Linked DNA regions of Homo sapiens: all the other regions are linked to region 2. Evidence: promoter capture Hi-C in 16 types of primary human blood cells and fetal thymus (Javierre and others, 2016). All regions are on one chromosome and are shown on one strand. The core of a region is centred on a gene start or on the middle of the fragment in contact, and the rest is flanking DNA. Distances in the headings are between cores, read along the strand shown. Region 1 has its middle 14 kb from the start of RPTN. Region 2 holds the start of FLG2 (filaggrin 2). Region 3 has its middle 9.2 kb from the start of RPTN.

Region 1 (4,255 bases), core at 690-3,189, 190 kb before region 2:
ACTCAAGTGTCACCTTATCAGAAAAATTTCTGGCCATCCTGTAAATAGCAAACTTTTCCCACTAATTCTCCATTCTACTACTCTGCTTTATTTTTCTTCTTGGCACTTATTACCGTCACTTGAATTAGTACATATTTGTTCATTTATTATCTCTCTCCCCCACTAGAAAGTAAGCACCTTGTAGCCTCAGTGCCTAGGACAGTGCCTGGCATGGTGGGTAAATGTTTGTTGATAGGATTGAGTGGTAAAAGCAAGTCTCTTCATTTAGAGAGGATGACAGCAGAGAAAAGGTTAAGTGGAAGACTATAAGATCAAGAAAGGCCTGTATTATATGAATATAGTTATAATCACAATTACCTAAAATACTAGAATAAGGAAGTCCCATCTTTTTAAGGCTTGAAAAAGGTAAGATTAAGACAAAGGGAAGGAAGTTTTATTTTACACAACAGGGCATAGTTTAGGGGAATTCCTCGATCCAAGAAGTGGTGCCTTGTGGAAAGTAAGAATCTGTTCATAGATTTCTGGAACATCTGGGTACCTTTCTAGCCATTTAGCCTTGGGGGTTTCGTTAGCTTTCTTGCATTCTGCTCCTGGGGCCTCAGTTAGAGGCAGGCTCTTGTCTGAAGACACATGGGGCTGGTGTCAAATTGGCCATTTTGGATGTTTCTATGAACCAACATAATGAGAGAGAGAAGTGAGAGGGCAAAGAACAGAGGTTGTTAAGAGCAAAGAGGAGGGATGGAGGGTTGGAAAGAGACCGAGTGGAGAATAAGGGATTGGTATTTCCCCTGGGTCTTCACAAGTGGGAGACACAGGGAAGAAACCCTGGCAGAAGTGTTTACATTTGAAAAGTTTAGAGGACTACCATAGACCTTGGGTTAGAAAGGTTCATGCATTCTATGGTTTCTTCATTTAACAAATGTTTATTGATAACCGACTATGTATCAGACACTCTTCTAGAGATGGAGTTTGCAGCAGTGAAATCCTGCCCTCATACAGCTTTTACATTCTAGGCTGGGGATACATACAATAAACAAAGAAGTAACGTGTGTATGTCAGTGCCAAGTGCTATGGTGAGAAAGATACAGGGAAGGGGACAGGAAGTGCTGGATGGTGGGTGGAATGGGGGGCAGGGACAGGTTGTGATTTGTAACTGGGCAGGTGACCAGCGAAGGCCCCTCTGAGAAGGTGACATTTGATAATGGCCTGAAGGAGGCGAAGTTTTCTCTCTGGCTTCAACCAGAGGCCTCCTTGGTCCTGGGCAGCTGGGTTATTTATGTTTAACTGTGTGCTCCTGAGTCTCATTTCCTTCCCTGGCCCAGGCTCTCTAGTTTCCTTTACCCAGTAAATATTAGGCGCTGGGGACACACCATGAACAAGACAGAGAGGCTCCATGACTCTGTGGACCTTTCAGTCCAAAAAAAGGAAATAGGTAAATGGTTATTACCCAACAGTGTGAGGGATGCTGCATTAGGACATTTCCAGCTCAGAGCAGGGCATTGTTCTTACTAGAGGGTGATTAGGAAAGGCTTCCCAGCTGAGATGGAATCTTCAGTTGGAGTTTGTCTTTTCTTCATTTCCAGTCCTTTGTCCTTGTCTTCTGTCCACTCCTTTCTTTGCTGAATATTTCCTCAGATTTCAAGTCCCATCTCACATTTCTTGTTGTGTTAGACATCATGACTGATTTTTCCTTGGCCTCTACTTCCCAGTTTAATGAAGATAATAGCTATTGCCACCCACATACTCATAAGAATGCAGAAGTGTTACAGGGGATTAATGGCATTTTAGGATTAAGGACATGATGGTAGTTTAAAAGCTTTTAGCGCCTCCTAAATTAGGAGATCTACCTGACATTGCTAAGCCTCTCAGATTTCGCTGTGGCAATAGTTCTGTTTCTCCTTAGGCTCACACTAGCTACTGTTTGGAAAATTTGGGCACAATTGTCTTGGGTGTTAAGTCCTTGTCCTTTGGACCCCACCTCTTTCCCTTATAGGACTTTGTGATAAGAGAGCTTAGTAATGTGGCACTTGATGAACTTACAAGGGATGTGACAGGTGTCAGGGAAGCTTGATGATTGTCAGCCACAGCCACAGTGGGAACTGATGCAGACTTCTCAGTAGTTCTCTTGTTCTTGTGTCACAGACCCCACTGATCTGGGTGGGGGGGGCACCAGAGGCCTTAGAAGCAGGACACCTTTCTCTATCTGGGTCTTCATAATCTGTCCTGTCTTCTATTTCTGACTCCATCTCCCCTTCAAAACTCCCCTGCTCTACTTAAAATGATCTCTTTGCCTAGCCTTGGGTGCATTTCCACATCTCCAGTAAGGTGGTAAGTCCTCTGAAGTAGGTTTCATTCTCCCCTCAATCTCTTTAAATCTACCCATCCTTCAATGTCCACTCCCAACAAAACCACTCGAGTTCTTTAATCTCTCTCCAACCTGCACTTGGGGATCACATCTTATCTCATAGAGCTTCTTTGGTTCAGATCAACATCTACCTCCATATAGAGTCGTCAAGCTGGAACAGACCAGCACTGCTTAGCTCTAATCCAGTATTTTTCAAACTGTGTTCCTTGGCACCTGTCAGGGGCTGAGCTGAGCAGACAGGATTCTGCTGTTTATCCCCATTCAACTCACTGCTTTTATCTTTAAAACATCTGAAGCTTTTCCCTGAGGAAAGGATTCTGCAGTCAAAGAGTTTGAAAACTATAATATCAAATTTGATTTGTTTGTAAAATGGAAATAGAGGCCCATGTACACAATGGCACATCGCTAGGCAGTGCTGGAATCAGCACCCCAGGATCCCAAGACCTATGCTTCCTATTAACAGAAAGTATCAGTGGAGTTGTGATGTGCTCTGTTGTACTATCTAGAGTGAATTAGAATCTCTTTGAAATCATAAAATGTCTTATATATCCTCGTTCTTTGGCACAATGCCTTGCTCATAGACGCTTAACAAATATCAGCTGCCACTGCTGATGGTGATGACAAGGGTGACACACATCTAGCAAGCCCCCTGAGAGTACCCTGGGTGGCTTTCTTGGCTTTGGCCCTTCCACTGATGTGCTTATGGCAGTGGCTGGGCCCTCAGTTCAGGCAAGGCACCTCATGGGGATCCTAACTGTGCTTTTAGTTATCTGCAAGGTCAACAGGAACCAACTCTGCCTTTATTCCTCATCCTTTCACCACTGGCCTTAAAGCTGCTTCACCAGGAAACTGGAATACTCCCTAACAAACAAAGTGTCCAAGCTTGTGTCTGGCTCCCTTGCCTGAACTCCTCTTTCTACTCTGTCTACACATGTTTTTAGTTTAGTTTAGTTTAGTTTTTTGAGACAGGGTTTGCTCTCTCCTCCAGGCTGGAGTGCAGTGGCGCCATCACGGCTCACTGAAGCCTCAACCTTCCAAGCTCAAGTGATCCTCCCACTTCAGCCTCCCATGAGTAGCTGGAACTACAGGCATGCTCCACCACACCCAATTAATTTTTGTATTTTTTGTAGACATGGGATTTTGCCATGTTGCTCAGGCTGATCTTGAACTCCTGGGCTCAGGTGACTCTCCCACCTTGGCCTCCCAAAGTAGTGGGATTATAGGCATGTGCTACAATGCCTGGCCTATACATGTTCTTTTATGATCCACCTCCTTCATGAAGCTTTCTGTAATTCCTCAGGCTCCTATTTATCTTCGTGTCTCTATTAATCACACTTTTACCAAATATTTATCGAGCTCTTTAAACTATGCTATGTACTTTACATCCATCCTCTCATTTGATGCTTACAACAAGCTTATGAGATAGATAATATTATCACTCTCATTTTATACATGAGGAAATTAAGGCTAAAAGAGATTAAATTATTTGTCCAAGGTCATAGAGGTAGAAAATAGTAGTGGTGAGATTTATATCCAGGCAGTCAGATCCCAGAACTTATGGGCCTAACAGTTGCAACCATACAGAGCTCCTATTTGGTATGGAGACAGCCACACTTTGTATCATTTACCCACAGATTCCTTCACCCAATATTTCCTAGATACTGACTATATTCAAAAGACCTTAAACAGTTTTAAAAGTTTATGTTAAAATTGCCCCATCTTCCTAGTGTCCCTGTGTGGAAATCTAATCTTGTCAACTTGACTGCAAGCTCCTTGAGGGTAGCTTCTTTATTCCTATCTCTCTTTTACCCTCTGCCCTTTTATCCTGTCCCAGTATGCTGGATGTAGATGCTCACCCAACTGATGGTCTTGATTGGATTATAGCACCTA
Region 2 (3,923 bases), core at 819-3,318:
TAAGTTTTACATAAATTGTAACTATTACATGTTAATATCTTCCATGTTGGAATTTATCATCTATTATTTTGAAGTTAATAACTGAGTCTTTTTTTTTTTTTTGAGATGGAGTCTTGCTCTGTAGCCCAGGCTGGAGTGCAGTGGTGCGATCTCTGCTCACTGCAAGCTCTGCCTCCCAGGTTCACGCCATTCTCCTGCCTCAGCCTCCCGAGTAGCTGGGACTACAGGGGCATGCAACCACGCCCGGCTAATTTTTTGTATTTTTAGTAGAGATGGGGTTTCACCGTATTAGCCAGGATGGTCTTGATCTCCTTACCTTGTGATTCACCCACTTCGGCCTCCCAAAGTGCTGGGATTACAGGCATGAGCCACCGCGCCTAGCTGAGTCCTTTTTAAGTAGATGGAATAAAATGCTGGCATTTTATTTTTGATTCTTAATCATGGCTATTTTGTCAACTCCCTATGTAGATGATTTCCCTTTCTATACTTTTTTTTCCATTTGATAGGATAATTTATTAATTCGTGTCCTAGTATAATTTTATTTTCTGCTTTTTCTAAGGAAAAGCCTGGGTGTATGAGAAAGTCTGAGAGTCTATGAGGTAGGAGTGCATAGGTGGAAAAGTGAGGACGAAACATTCACTTTCTTTAAAATATCTGCTGCTTTAACAGACTTTCTGGCATCCCCAAAATACCACTCATAGAGTTTGCTTAGAGTTCACTGGGGCTGTGCACTTTTTAGCTGATCTGGGTCATACAACAGAGCTTGTACAGGACTCCAGCAGCCTTCAGTTCTGGCACATGGCTCTCACCTTCAGAACTGGATGAAGCTCTTTCTCCAGAAGTTCCTTTAGTTCACCCTTGCTCAGTGTGCCACACTCCCCATCTTGCTTGGTGTATTTGTAGAAAACATCAATTACGGTGACAACACTTCTCAAGAGGTCGGTCATCTTTTTGCAAGTTTAAGTGAACCTGGACACAGAAAAACAAAGAACCCTATTATTCATATTCTCTCCTTTTATCAGCAATTTTCATTTTAATAATAACCAGCATGATTTTTTTAACCTCTTGTTTTTTAAATCTCAAAACGTAAGAATGGGCCAGGGATGATACAACCCCGTTTAACACAATGAAAATTAACTTTGTTAACTTTGAGTTACTTTTCTGTGATCAAGTCTTGGCATGTTACTGGTTCAACTGAGAATAGACCTCAAGTCTCTATATTTCCTGTCATGGGTAAGTATAGTCTCTACATAGTATCTCTACACTTTGAGTGTGTTGGCATTCTGGGTGTTGTTCTAAGGCTTCCAAAATTTCCAGAACCAGCCAGACACCATTGCCTCAATCTCTCTTTCTAGTTTCACTGCTTTTCTTGAGTCAAAAGTGACAGACCTTCCACCATGCACATCTGTTTATCCTCTGGGCACCAGAAGCTAAACTGGACCCTTAAGGCCTTCAGCAAATTAAAAATGGGCAAAGGGGCTCAAAATAGCTTGGTGTTTCATAGGCATGAGACAGTAGAACTCAGTAGAGCTTAGGAACTCTCTTAATGTCAAGCACTTGACCAAACACTGTTTTCTTTAATTAATCAAGAAGAAGAGCTCAGCAATGCAGGCAGCAGTTTAACTAGTGGATAATTAGATCTTGGAGCTCTGGGAACCAACACTGAATAAGGAAGGGACTCTGCAACAGACCCAGCTGCCTCCCAGTTTGAGCTGGACAGCCCAGAAAAGAGGGCATGGAAAAAGACTCGGAACAGACTGTGGAATGGCCTAGAGGAAGGTGAACTTTTACTTGCATTATTCTTCTCCATAAAAATGAACTTAACTACAAAAAGGCCCCAGAATAAACTAAACTAACCAAACAAATAAGCAAACAAAAAGAAAAGAAAATGAAAGAAAGAAACAAAAAAGAAAAGAAAGGCAAAATATACATGAACTCTGCCTTAGCTTATATCCCTAGACTTCTACTATGGACAACACCAAATATTCATAAATGTAGCTGGATGAATTTTCTCTCACCTGGTTCACCAAAGGAACAAGTAGGATAAAGCCTGATGCAGCTTGCAGGGTGACGATGGATTGGGATAATGACCCTTATATAGCTTATAGTGATTATAGTGAATGAGGTGATTCATTTTCCATCAAACCTAACTCCACCTCTACATATTTACCTTCCTCCTTCACATTGTTATCTACAGATGATTGCAGAAAGGCTAGTACCAGCCCCACCTTCCAGTACGAGGACATGGTTGCAAGATACCTTTTTTTTCAGGGTCATATACATGTGAAAAGCACAGACTTTGTTTTAGAGGACTCATGTTATACATTTCTTTTAACTAGTACCCACAGAAAGTAGCAGAGTGTAAGATACTTGGAAGGTGCACAATAAATGCTTATTTAATTGAAAATGAACCTGAGCCACTAGGTTCATCTAATTCATGTCTTTTTTGTAATAATAAAAAGTGACATTTATTGAGAATTTACTATGTGCTAAATACTTTAAACAAACCATCTCAATCTTTAAAAAATCTGCACTTTTAGTTATGGGTACATAGTTGTATATAATTGTTGGGTACATGTGATGTTTTGATATGGGCATACCATGTGTAATGATCAAATTACAGTAATTGGGGTATCCAGCACCTCAAGCATTTCTTTGTAGTAGGAACATTCTAATTCTACTATTTTAGTTATTTAAAAATATACAATAAATAGTTAACTATAGTTACCATATTATGTTACCAAATACTAGATCTTATCACCTCATTTAATCTTCACAACCTTCATACGAGATATGTATTTATTATCCCATTTTATAGAGACAGGTTCTGGAAGCATAAGGATCTTCTCCAAGGTCATAGCTAGTAGGCAGAGAAACCAGAAGTTGAACCTGTATCTACCTTATTGCAATTGCTGTTTACCATTATACTAACTTACCTCTGTGTATTTATCATATATAACTATCATGCAAAAATTATGCACCATTTTAGGAGTGTAAGGCCCACTCAAACGCAAATAATATAAAAAAGTAACATACAGAGTGCTGTTAGGAAGAGAGGAAACATTCTCTGACCTTGTGAAGGCTCATTTCTAGGCTAGAAAAGTGTAATTGGCTATATATAAAAATAATGTTTTCAGATATGTTCAGGGTGAATTTAGAGTGAGCTTTCTTCCAGCACTCTGCGATCCACTGGTAGTCTGGCATGTTTAGGGCCTGGACCCTTGGGAAAATGTTCACTTATGTACAGAAAGTATATCAAATACACTTGAGGGTAACAAAAATAATCAGAGAGCTGTAAGTCTTAAGCATGGAGAGCCAATTCTGCTGTACTTTGCTACCAGGTGATAATGATGATGATGAGGAGGATAGCAGCTACCATTAAGTGCTAAGTGCTTACTATCTTCTATACATGGTAGGTTTACATGCTTATCTATTTATTCCTCAAAATAACCCCATTTTATAGATAAGGTAATAAAAGCATAGAGCAATGTAAACATTTGTTACAAATCGCAGCTAGTTAGTAGCAGCACTAGAACAGATACACATGCTAGCCGATGCTAAAGCCTAGCACTTAACCATATATATTCTACATATATGGAGTCAATAAACTCCTATCTGGGCATTGCTTTGGGCCAGTCATCATATCTTATTCATTCCACCATCTAGGCAGCACCTAGAGCTTGGTAAACACTAAGAATGAGTGTCTGTTCATAAAATGTTAATGAATAGGCCCTTGAAATATGTCAATTGCTCACATAGCCAAGGAATCCTAGACCAAAACAACCACACAGAAAGTTATGGTTGCTGTTGGATACTATGGTCATTTTCAATCATATGCATCTTTTGGAAGTGCATTTTTGTTAAGATGGCTGCTGTGTCAGAAAGACTTTCAGGCCCCAGACTCCACACTGAGACAGAATTTT
Region 3 (4,062 bases), core at 1,132-3,631, 210 kb before region 2:
ACTCTGCACCTCTGGCAAGCTTCTGCCTGGGCACTTGGGCTTTCCCATACATCCTCTGAAATCTAGGTGGAAGCTGCCAAGCCTCCTTAATGCTTGCATTCTGTGCACCTGCAGGCTTAACACCATGTGGACACCTCCAAGACTTATGGCTTGCACTCTCGGGAGCAGGGCCCAAGCTGTACCTGGGGCCCTTAGAGCCCCAGTTGGAGCCAGAGCAGCCTGAACGCAGGGAGCAGTGTCCTGAGGCTTCATGGCACAGCAGTGTCCTGGGCCTGGCCTTTGAAACCATTCTTTCCTCCTAGGCCTCTGGGCCTGTGATGGGAGGAGCTGTCCTGAAGACTTCTCAGATGCCTTTGGGACTTTTTTTCTCATGGTGTTGACTATTAGCAATTTATTTCCATTTAGGCATTCAAATCTGTTTAGCAAGTGGTTGCTCTGCAGCCTGCTCGGATTCCTCTCCTGAAAAGCCTCTTTCCTTCTGTACTACAGGGCCAGCTAGCAAATTTTCTGATTTTTTATGCTCTGATTTCCTTTTAATTACAAGTTCCTACTTTAAGTCACTTCTTTGCTCCCATATCTGATCATAGCCTGTTAGAAGCAGCCACACCATATCTTGAATGCTTTGCTGCTTAGAAATTTCTTCTACCAGATACCCTATGTCATCACTCTTAAGTTCATGCTTCCTTAGATCCCTAGCAGCCAAGCTCTTTGTAACAGTGTAACAAGGGTGACCTTTGCTCCAGTTCCCAAAAAGTTTCTCATTTCCATCTGAGACCTCATCAGCCTGGGCTTCACTGTTCATATTTCAATCAGTATTTTGGTCACAACCACTTAGCAAGTCTTGGAGAAGTTCCAAACTTTCCCTTATCTTCCTGTCTTTTTCTGAGACCTCCAAATTCTTCCAGTATCTGCCCATTACCCAGTTCCAAAGCTGTTTCCACATCTTCAGGTATCTTTATAGCAACACCCTACTCTCAGTACCAATTTTCTGTATTAGTACATTTTGCATTGTTATAAGAAATAATAAAAGACTGGGTAATTTATAAAGAAAGGAGGTTTATTTTGGATCATAGCTCTTCAGATTGTACAAGAAGTGTGATGCCAGCATCTACTTCTGGTGAAAGCATTAGGAAGCTTTTAGTCATGGTGGAAAGTGAAGGGCAAACAGGCATGTCACATGGCAGGAGAGAGAGCAAAAGAGAGAAGGAAGAGGTCCCAGGCTCTTTTAAACAACCAGATCTCACATGACCTCATGGAGTGAGAACTCACTCATTACCACAAGGACATCACCAAGACATTCATGAAGAATCTGCCCCTATGACCCAAATACCGCCCACTAGGCCCCACCTCCAACATTGGGGATCACACTTTAATGTGAGATTTGGAAGAGACACATACCCAAATCATATCAAAATGTATTTGTTAAGCTTCTATTAAAATAATGTAGGAGAAGAAAAGATAATGCATACCAAGTAAATGAACAAGGAGAGATCAGATTATAAATCACTTTTGTATATATCATCTGTATTTATCTCTAAGAAACTTTAGAATTTTTAAACTTTGGAATTTTTTCTTCAGCTTTTATTTTTAGCTTTAGAGGGTACATGTGTAAGTTTGTTACATAGACATATTGCGTGACAGTGAGGTTTGGGGTATGAATCCCATCATCCAGGTGTTGAGCTTAGTACCCAATAGGAAGTTTTTCAATGTACACTCATTTCCCTCCTTCCCCACTCTAGTGGTCCCCAGTGTATATTGTTCCCATCTTTATGTCCATGTGTACTCAGTGTTTAGCTCCCACTTATAAGTGAGAACATGTGGTATTTTGTTTTCTGTTTCTGCATTAATTTGCTTAGAATAATGGCCTGTAGCTGCATCCATATTGCTGCAAAGGACATGATTTTGTTCGTTTTTTATGGCTGTGTAGTATTCCATGGTGTATATGTACTATATTTTCTTTATCCAATCCACCATTGATAGGAATCTAGGTTGATTCCATGTCTTTGCTATTGTGAATAATGCTGCAATAAACATATAAGTGCATGTGTCTTTTTGGTAGAAGTCTTTATTTTCTTTTGGGTATGTACCCAGTAATGGGATATAGCTCTGTTTTAAGTTCTTTGAGAAATCTTCAAACTGCTTACCATGGTGGTTGAATTAATTTATATTCCAACAACAGTGTATAAGTATTCTCTTTTCTCCACAGCCTTGCCAGCATCAGTTATTTGTTGACTTTTTAATAATAGCCATTCTGACTGGTGTGAGATTGTATCTTATTGTGGTTTTGATTTGCATTTCTCTGATGATTAATGATGAGCATTTTTTCATGTTTGTTGGCTGGCTGCTTGTATGTTTTCTTTTGAAAAGTGTTTCTCAAGTCCTTTGCCCATTTTTTAATAGGGTTATTTGTTTTTCTCTTGTTGATTTAAGTTCCTTATAGATATTGAATATTGGACCTTTGTTGGATTAATAGTTTGCAAACATTTTCTCCCATTTTGTAGGTTTTCCATTTACTCTGTCTGTGGCTTCTTTTGCTGTGCAGAAGCTCTTTAGTTTGATTAGGTTCCACTTGTTAATTTTTGTTTTTTAAACTGGATTTTTAAACCCCATTTTACAGATGCAAAAACTGAGACTTAAAGAGACAATTTTTTTTAAGATCATAAAATTGGTAAGTGGTGAAGGCAGGTTTTAAATATAAGTCTTTTAAAAATTTTAAATCTCAGCTTCATGTATGTAATTGGTCAGTCACTGTGCTCGATGTGAAATATACAACTGTGAATAAGATGCAATTTCTGACTTCTGGGACCTTACTGCTTGGTGGGAAACACATGGGTTTAAAATTTACTTCAATGCAATCTGATAAGCTGTATGCTGATGATAGGTGCAGAAGGTGGTGCCAGTCCCAAGAATGGGTAGGATTTTGGCAGACAAAGATCAGGACAGCGTTTAAGTGGAAGAAATTGTATAAGCAATGACGTGGAGGCTAGGAAGTTGTCCTGTTAAGTTGGAGTCTAGGGGCATTGTTGGAAACTGAGTTGGAAATGTACACTGAAGCCAGATCATGGAGGGCTTCTATGAGCATTCAACCAACACTTATTTATTGGATGTACATCATGACAAGCTATTGTCCGAAATGCAAGAGAACAGCAGCAAACAAGACAAACAAAATCCTTGTTCTTATGGGCCTTACATTCCAGTAGGGAGAAAAAGATAATAAATGAGTAGCATAAAAACAAGGTATCAAACATGAAAAGTGTTAAGAACATTGGCAGCACAAATGAGGAATATATGGTAGAGGCTGATTGGGGTGATACTTTTTTAAAATAAATGCCAGAGAAAGCTTCTGTCACGAGGTGACTTTTTAACTGAGACCTGAATGAAATAAGGATTGAGCCACACCAAGATCGAGAAGAAGACTATTCTGATCAAAAGAAATAGCTGGTTCAAAGGTCTCCCGGTGGGGATCAGCTTGTCCTGCTAGAATCATGGAAAGAAGGCCAGAGTGATTAGAAAACAGTGATGCAGAGGACAATGGTGAAAGATGAGACTTTGCAGGGCCCCATCCTATAGGAAGGTCCTGAGAACAAAGCTGGATTTTATTCTCAATGTGGAGGGAAACTACTGGGAATTTCATGTAGGGAGTGGCACAATGTGGTCTACCTTTTTGAAAGGGATGGGGAGTCCCATCAGGAAGCTGTGTTCTAGGAGAGGTGACCTGGACTGGGATGACAGGAGTAGAGATGAAAAGAATCATGGATTTGGGCTGTTTTGTATTTTGAGATAGAAAAAAAAAAAAAGGATTTAGCATGTAGATGATGCACTGAATGTTGAGCAGCTTCCAGATTTTGAATTCTTTCACCCTGATTCTCCACCTTCTCATTTAGTTTGCTGGAGAGAGTTTAAATTATAGAGAATATTTGTGAAGGAGACTCATCTTACACATGAACACATATGTCATATAAACAGCAGCCAACATATGGGCGTTCCTGTTGATCTTGAGGCCCAGGACAAGCCATGGCCCTTTGCATTTCTCTCTCCCCCAGGATCACAGTCCTAGCTTAG

What was found. The method cuts DNA at HindIII sites, captures the fragments that hold promoters and counts their contacts. A CHiCAGO score of 5 or more calls a contact.
Region 1: a contact is called between a fragment that was not itself captured here and the fragment with the promoter of FLG2 in region 2, in 1 of 17 cell types (total CD8 T cells). The highest score is 5.3, in total CD8 T cells.
Region 3: a contact is called between a fragment that was not itself captured here and the fragment with the promoter of FLG2 in region 2, in 1 of 17 cell types (naive CD8 T cells). The highest score is 5.7, in naive CD8 T cells.

The regions. Positions count from the first base shown.
Region 1 is chr1:152,171,074-152,175,328 of GRCh38, forward strand. No RefSeq gene overlaps it. Among named protein-coding and RNA genes, the nearest start is that of RPTN, 14 kb to the left of the region's middle. The HindIII fragment of the contact is 250 bases long and covers 1,815-2,064 here.
Region 2 is chr1:152,357,938-152,361,860 of GRCh38, forward strand. It overlaps FLG2 (filaggrin 2), which reads right to left and starts at 2,069. Exons shown (of 3, transcript NM_001014342.3): 1 at 2,019-2,069; 2 at 810-969. The coding sequence starts at 947. All of the region lies in intron 7 of CCDST (cervical cancer associated DHX9 suppressive transcript), which reads left to right. The HindIII fragment of the contact is 5,522 bases long and covers 1-3,923 here.
Region 3 is chr1:152,147,961-152,152,022 of GRCh38, forward strand. No RefSeq gene overlaps it. Among named protein-coding and RNA genes, the nearest start is that of RPTN, 9.2 kb to the right of the region's middle. The HindIII fragment of the contact is 1,913 bases long and covers 1,426-3,338 here.